2 separate regions of the Homo sapiens genome follow, and region 1 is linked to region 2. The links are contacts of gene promoters, found by promoter capture Hi-C in human tissues and cell types (Jung and others, 2019). All regions are on one chromosome and are shown on one strand. The core of a region is centred on a gene start or on the middle of the fragment in contact, and the rest is flanking DNA. Distances in the headings are between cores, read along the strand shown.

What was found. The method cuts DNA at HindIII sites, captures the fragments that hold promoters and counts their contacts. A contact is called where the count stands out against the background at its distance.
Region 1: a contact is called between a fragment that was not itself captured here and the fragment with the promoter of CCDC30 in region 2, in 2 of the 25 tissues and cell types used here (H1 embryonic stem cells and adrenal gland).

The regions. Positions count from the first base shown.
Region 1 is chr1:42,357,018-42,361,015 of GRCh38, forward strand. No RefSeq gene overlaps it. Among named protein-coding and RNA genes, the nearest start is that of RIMKLA, 22 kb to the right of the region's middle. The HindIII fragment of the contact is 7,040 bases long and covers 1-3,998 here.
Region 2 is chr1:42,460,903-42,464,821 of GRCh38, forward strand. CCDC30 (coiled-coil domain containing 30) reads left to right here and starts at 2,384. Exons shown (of 21, transcript NM_001395517.1): 1 at 2,384-2,996. PPCS (phosphopantothenoylcysteine synthetase) reads left to right here. Exons shown (of 3, transcript NM_024664.4): 3 at 1-334. RefSeq lists a silencer at 2,281-2,330. The HindIII fragment of the contact is 7,916 bases long and covers 1-3,919 here.

The sequences.
Region 1 (3,998 bases), core at 920-3,419, 100 kb before region 2:
GGTCATTTCTTCTCAAGTTTATTGCTCTTTGTCTAAAAAGTATGAGAGTATCTTGCTTTGGCCATTTCTTCAGACTTCACTCATAAAGATCCCCATGTACATGTAAAACTAATACAATTTGTATACTTTTATTCATCTGCTTGGTGTCAATTTGGTTTCCAGATCCAGCCAAAGAGCCCACTAGGAGCTAGAAGGGGGATTAGGGGGATTGGCTGTGATCTATGGCTCCCTTATTCACTGGAAAGACTCAGTGAAGACTGAAGACTGACTGAGTTGCTAAAAAAAAAAAAAAAAAAAAAAAGAAAGCAAAAACGACTGTTGAAATAAATGTAAGCAAAACAACTACAGAGTTGGGTAAATAATTTTAAGTAATTTAAAGTCCTACACATAGATATCTTCCTAGGTGTGTTTAAGTTCTTGCACATTAAAGAAACCCAAAATGAAGAATCATAAAAATGCATATTGTGAGTGGTTTGTTCAAGAATGATAATACAGAGTTCCAATCAGTGGACTATTGTACAAAGAAAAACAAGCTTGCCTCACATTCGAAGGCCTATGAATGGATGTATATAAATGGGTTTGAACTTAAAATATTTAAAATAAGTACAGATCATATTTTATGATTCCCTACTTTAATGGAATGGTTCCATTTCTAGACTGATCACATTGGATAAATGGCCTTTGTGATAGTCATTCTAAGGTCTCTCAACACAGATTAAAGGCCCCTATGTTATTCATTGACCTCGGTGCTGATGGTTTTCTAGAGGACTGAGTGAACCAGAAGAGGTGGGGTACAAACATCCTAGGCAGAGGAAAAAAAGGGAGCAAATTCAGCAAAACATGGACATGGCATAGAGCATCAATTTCTTCTACTGGAGGGTATAGCAGGAGGGGAGTGGGAAAGTTGAGAAAACAAGTTATGGTAAAAGAAAAAAAAGAGGCAGTTGAATTTAGTCTCCATTTTCACATACTGGCTCTCTAAGCTTTGTTAAATAGTTTCAAGCTTTCTGGGATTGGCAGATATTCAAAGCTAACTATTTCTCTCTTAGGACACATTTACAGATTCTGCAGAAGACCCAGTAGGAAGATTCTGTTGTACCTTATATAATTCAGGTGATACCATCTCCCTTTCATTGGCTACTCTCATCTCAGCCTCTGTTTTTTGGTGGTCCAGTCTACACTGGGTCTTTCTGTTAGGAGTTCCATGGCTCTTCCAGGCAATCCTCCTAGGCAAGATTTTAAAGGGTTTAAGCCAGCTCTCCTTCCAAAGAAACCTTCCACCCTGACAAACTCTTGGAGTGCAGGCCACTTGATATAATCATTTATTTGACCTTCACCCCTGTAGTTGGAACAGCTAGCTAGTCCACCACTGCCTTTCACATGTCCTAGGCAAGAGTTAGATATTGGTCCACTGCATCCCATTACCTGCAGGAGTTACATATCAAGGTCTCCAAGTGGTCCCATTGAAATGGCTCCCCCTTGGCTTAAGAATAAGAAAGTATCACCCAACCCTGCTTATTGGGAGAGAGGGAGGAGAAATCCTCACAAGCTTATGTCTCTCCAGAAAAGTCCTCTTCAAAGAAGCCCTACAGCAACATCTCTTTACCTCCCTGAGGATGAGGGGCTTGAGAACTGTGCAACTGGTTTTTGATTATCTACTTTGAAACTCCCACAGAAGGGTATGCTGACAACTTTGCCATCTAATATCTATTGCCTTAGGGTTTCTGGTGGACACTTCCTATTTGAAATCTATTACACTTATATTTGTGGACTAAACAATACTTGGATGTGATGTATTATTCTTTTACTATCCTAATGGATTAAATTTACCAGTGTTTTATTTAAGATTTTGTAATCTATGTTTATAAATGAAATTGACCTATACATGTGCTTTTTTTGTACAGACCTTGTGTCATGTAGCAGGACAGAAATTTGCATACTATGACTCAGATGTGCGAAAGAATGTTAACATTTGTTACTTTCTGTAATGACTCCTATTTTAGACTCAAGCCTCAATTCCTACTAATAGCAGGGGGAAATTTTTAAATTGTGTTTATGTCTCTGTGAGTTTAAATAGAATTTAATTCATTCAAAATTCACACTCCCAGCTGAGTGCGGTGGCTCGTACCTGTGATCCCAGCACTTTGGGAGGCCAAGGTAGGTGGATCATTTGAGGTCAGGAGTTCGAGACCAGCCTGGCCAACATGGTGAAACCCTGTCTCTACTAAAAATACAAAATAAATTAACCAGGTGGTAGTGGCGCATACCTGTAATCCCAGCTACTCAGGAGGCTGAGGCAGGAAAATCACTTGAGCCCGGGAAGTAGAGGTTACAGTGAGCCGAGGTCACACCACTGCACTCCAGTCTGGGTGACAGAATGAGACCCTGTCTCAAAAAAAAAAAAAAAAATTCACACTCCCTGCTGGCTATTTTCTCCCCTCATAAAAGCAGGAGGAGAATACCACACTGTCCTGTGGCCTTCCCTGAGATGTCCCTCATCCCACTGTTGAAGCTGACAGAGGGAAACTTGGCTGTATCTTATCTTTTGTGGCATCATTTTGCTGCCTATTACTGAGATTCTTCATTCCTGCATTCTGTGCTCTGCTTATGCAACCTAAGGCTTCCTGCAGCCAAGTGGTTCCCCTCAGCACCATCTGTCCCCTGAGGAATCCAAGGAACTCTTGACTGCTTTCTCCTTGACATGATGTACTTGTGGGATCCTGGGAGGCTGCTCTCAGACTTCTCCCTCATCCGTTACTACCTGAGTCATACTGAACATGGTACCAACCCCAATACAGGGTTGTTCCAAGGAACCTGCATCATCTGAAACAAAATCTGGAAAGTGGGCATGAGCCATGTTTTGGAATTTCACCAGATCTGTATCCCCAAATCACTTATTTCTGGCCTCCCACTCCTTTGTCTCTCACACTCTCTGCTTTTCCCAATTATCAGAAGAACTTCCTGCTTTCCCTTCCTGTCTCTCAGGAATTCTTCTACCAAATACCCTTTTCCTTCCTACGTGGCATTAACCCTTGCCTACTTTGATTGAATAACAGTACAGGCAAGGGAGTGGCAGGGAAATAATCCAAATTATTAAGAGAAAATGCAGCCAGGCATGGTGGCTCACACCTGTAGTCCCAGCACTTTGGGAGGCCAAGGTGGGTGGATCTCTTGAGTCCAGGAGTTTGAGACCAGCCTGAGCAACATGACGAAACCCTGTCTCTACTAAAAATACAAAAAGTTAGCCAGGTGTGGTGGCACGCACCTGTAGTACCAGCTACTTGGGAGGCTGAGGTGGAAGAATCACCTGAGCCCAGGAAGTTGAGGCTGCAGTGAGGAATGATAGCACCACTGGGTGACAGGAGTGAGACCCTGACTCCAAAAAGAGAGAGAGAGAGAGAGAGAGAGAGAGAGAGAGAGAGAGAGAATATGCATTAGGGTATTTTCTACAAACACTTCAACTAGCTTACTTACATTTAAGCCCAAGATATTTATTGTTCTTATGCTTTTGCTGCTAAATCAAGGATAGACTCACACATAATATTTCTCTATTATACTGGTGGGTTAGCACACTGCCTATTTCCTCCAAGTGGTTTAATCAGCTTCTTGAAACCCATACTAATAACTATTACATGTAATTCATTTCCCTTTCCCTTGCAGATAAAAGTGGCCAACTAGATGTAAGCAGAAGTCACTGGGTAGGCTTCTTGGAACTCTGTCATTATTGCCCTTCTTCCGTTTGTCCTTTCTGTTGCTTGGAAGGCAGATGAGGTGGCTAGAGCTTCAAAAGCCATATTGGACCAAGAGTAACCTAGAACATGAAGGTGTGTGCCAAAGATGGCAGAGCACATGGAAAGGGGAGATCCTGGATGCTTAATGACCAAGGAGCAGCCACACCAACCCTGAACTGCCTAACTCTGCTCTTCTTTATTCTGAGGAAGAAATATGCCTCTTTTGTATTTAAGTTGCTTTAATTAGTATCTTCTACAAACAACCAC
Region 2 (3,919 bases), core at 1,134-3,633:
TTAGCAAAGCAGTGTTACACCACTGCCCTGCTTAATCTTTGAATCCTTGAGAATCTTTGAAAAACTTTCAATACTTCTCTTGCTGTCCTACGTTTTGGGTTTGGAGTGCACAAGTAGCATAGTGCAAAAAAATTCCCTAAATGATCTGTAGGATAGTCCAGGTGCAATTTGAAAAATTAGCATTGATGACTAAGGTAGAAGCAGGTACTGTGTTTCACATAAATATTTGACTTAAAATACAATTCATGGTGTTTCATGGAGTAGGGAAGGGTAGCCCCTGTGTCTGTCTGATAATAGAAGTACAATAAATTTAATTGAGAAGATTTGACAGAAATTCTAAGACTGAAATACTTCATTAATCAGGAAATGTGACCTTGAACAGAGGAAAAATACTGCAGCAGTCAAGACTGTTCTGGAAGCAGCAGTCCCTTTGAACAAAAAAATTTTCTTAGAGACAAGGTCATGCTTAGTCACCCAGGTTGGAGTGCAGTGGTCCAATCATGGTTCACTGTAATCTTGAACTCCTGGACTCAAGCACTCCTACTGCCACAGCCTTCTGAGCAGCTGAGACTACAGGTGTGTGCCACCATGCCTGGCTAAATATTTTATTTTTCATAGAGACAAGGTCTTACTATGTTACCCAGGCTCTTTTTTTTTTTTTTTGAGCGGAGTCTTGCTCTGTCGTCCTGGGTGGAGTGCAGTGGCACAATCTCGGCTCACTGCAAGCTCTGCCTCCCGGGTTCACACCATTCTCCTTCCTCAGCCTCCCTAGTAGCTGGGACTACAGGCGCCCGCCACCACGCCCAGCTAATTTTTGCATTTTTAGTAGAGATGGGGTTTCACCTTGTTAGCCAGGATGTTCTCCATCTCCTGACCTCGTGATCTGCCCGCCCCGGCCTTCCAAAGTGCTGGCATTACAAGCGTGAGCCACCGCGCCCAGCCACCCAGGCTCCTTTGACAATGATTTTAAGTGAACTTCAGGTCCAATTTGCAAAACCCCAAAAGCAGTGGGCTCTGTCAGTGGCTGCAGTACTGAAGGGCAAGAAGTAGAATATGTTCTTCTCTGCATTCATAGCTTTATGTGGATGATGACTGTCATCTTTGAATGTACAATGGGGATATATGGGGTTAAAAGTAGAAGTGATCTTAATGTTTGTCTTTACCATAATTATTACCTCCCTTGGGAATTTTATATCCTGTCTTGTTAACGCTTAAAAACAATCAGTGTTCTACATGAAATTATTTAGTGTTTTCCACTTCAGTTTAATTTATATTCAGAGCACTTAGATTATTTACACAAGTAAAAATTCCAGGGGGGTGGGGGAGAGTGTGTGTGTGTGTTTTAATAGCAAATGGAAGTGTATAAAGAAAAGGAACATGAGTCAATGAGGGTAACTAAGAACCTGATCTTGGATGGAGGATCAAGGAATGTCTCCCTGAGTAGGTGATACTTAAACTGATAAACAGGAGTGAAGTGGGCTACAAGTGCTGGTGGTGAGCCTTTTAGTTCAGAAAAAAACACTTGCAAGAGGTCTAGTGCCAGAAGGAGAGGTTGAGGCACTTTATTATATAAAGAGTAAAATACGTCCGGATAATGCATGTAGAACCAGCAAAAATTTGTGAAGTATTCTCTTGGGGAACTAGAGTAAGACCAAGAAATGTTGTGTTTGGGATACCAGCAAAGCAAGGGCCCCCAAAACATGACTAAAATCGAGTTTGATAATTAACTAGAATTTTGCAATAAGAGCATCTAAAAAGATGATATAAATTGAGTATGTTAAATTTTGTGTCATTTATAAGTTTTTATTTTGCATTACATAGGTGGGGAAGATAACGTTCATCTTACCTGAATTTTCAGTGCTTAGGACTTCTAAAGGGCTTCAGCCTTAGGGACAATTCTAGTCAAGCCCAGTTTCTTCCTTTTTACAATAATAAGCTGGATCCAAAAATTGTGATTTATCTTACGTGCCCCACGTGGCTAGTGACACGATCTAGGCCTAAAATTCAGAGCTCTTGAGCTAGCACTTCCTGCCCCTTTAAGAATGAAGGAACTTGTAGAAAAATAAATCCAAGGTTAGTAGGCAGGGGCTCCAGCTGAGTCCTGGCGGGAAGTTCTTTGAGAGCTAGAACGCCCCAAGACAAAATGTATTCGCTAAGTCGCAAACGCTCGACATGTTACCATGGTTACAGCTGTCTCCAAAGCCAATGGAATGAGTTGTACTATCGATACGGCCGGGACAACTCCGCCCCCGACCCGAAGGCCAATGGTGTGAGACATAATAACAGTCTCCACAAGAACCACAGTCTCTGGTTCCACTGGCGTGCGTCGTCTCTATGGTTCCCGCCGGAAGGACGCGTCTGCGTCTCTGCGGCGAGCGCGGTTGCTATGACGCCCAGGTCTCCGTAGGCACCTGCAGCTAGCAGCTGAGCGCGTAGGGGCCGAGCGACCCCGGGACGCTCGCGGCACCCTCCGCAGGAAAATTTCCGACTTGGTTCTTGAGGTTCCTGCCTCAGCCCCAAGGAGGAAAGCACCCATTCTCCCCTCTTTTCCGCATTACGGGCCTTTTCTGCTTCTCCCCAGTATGGTCCGAAACTACAGGAGGGGAACCCCTCCTGGCCCGGCCTTTCTATTCCCTGGCTGGAGTGATTCCGCCTGAAGGAGAATTCGCCCGTTTTCCCCGGACCCAGCTGCCACAAGCATTTAGTATTAGGCTGCCGCTTATTATTAGAGCGGGCTTAGAACATCCTCAGCGAGGTAGGTCGGCGTTCCTTTTCTCACTTAAAGGTGAGGTGTCGAGACGCGCCCCTGGACAGACAACGCCCGAAGGTCCAGGCCACTACGAAGTCCACGGAGGGGCAGCTTTCCCCTACGTGTAGGCCCGCGAACAAAGAACTACCGTTTTCTGATTTTTTTTGGCCGATGTTCGTCATGCAGAACCTTGAATCCCGATGAAGATTTGGAGGCCTTTTGTATCCTCAACATCAGAGGTCATGAAGTCAGTTACCTTCTGCCTTTCAAGCTACAACTTTTTCCACTTCTCTCATCACTCCAAGCACCAGCTTTCTCATCCTGCTTATTTCACAGCCATTTTAACTTTTCCCTGTTCACGCTGCACATTATTGAATGTCCATTTGTCTGCACCACCTCTGTCATCTATAGACCACCTCCTTCTGCTTTCCTGCTACAATGCTTTGCGTACCTAAGTATTTCGCATTCTCCAGCTCTGCAGTCATTGGGAAGATTTTCTGTTTTTCTTTGCACTATGGCAACCTTTCAGTCTTGGGTAAACTAGAGACTAGGAGAAGTGCAAATTGGTAAATATAAACATTAAATACTGTAGGTCTAGTGTGTTTTGAAAATGGAAAAAAAAATCAAAATTGCAGTATTGGACCCATTTCAGGCTTACATAATGAAAGAAGGTTGTTCCTTGTTTCATTAAATTTTATTGATGTGTTTATCAATGTGAAAAGGGCATTCAAAGTGATCATGTAAGACAGGATTTCAACTTTAAGCCCATATGAACCCAACACTGGGGATATGATGTAATTTTCTGGAGAGGAGATGATTGAAATAGTACTTGTGCCTTCTTTTCCTGTCAATTTCTGAATCAGAAAACATTCTTTGTGATGTAAGCCAATAAATGAAAACAATAAGGAGTGATTGAAAATAAATATTTTTGGCAAGGGAGCAGACACAATTGTTCTAAAAAGGCTGGAACAGAGGGCCTTAAATATGGCATAAGATTAATTTAGATCCAGTGCAATTTTATTTTAGCTTGGAAAGCTTGACTTAATTTGTCTTACAATACGCATTCCTTGTTGAATCTTACTATTTCTTCTTCAGTATTCAGGTTTAAAAGTAAACCTATTTTGAGGACATACAGAACATACACATTTTAAACAGCTATTTGGGGCTACA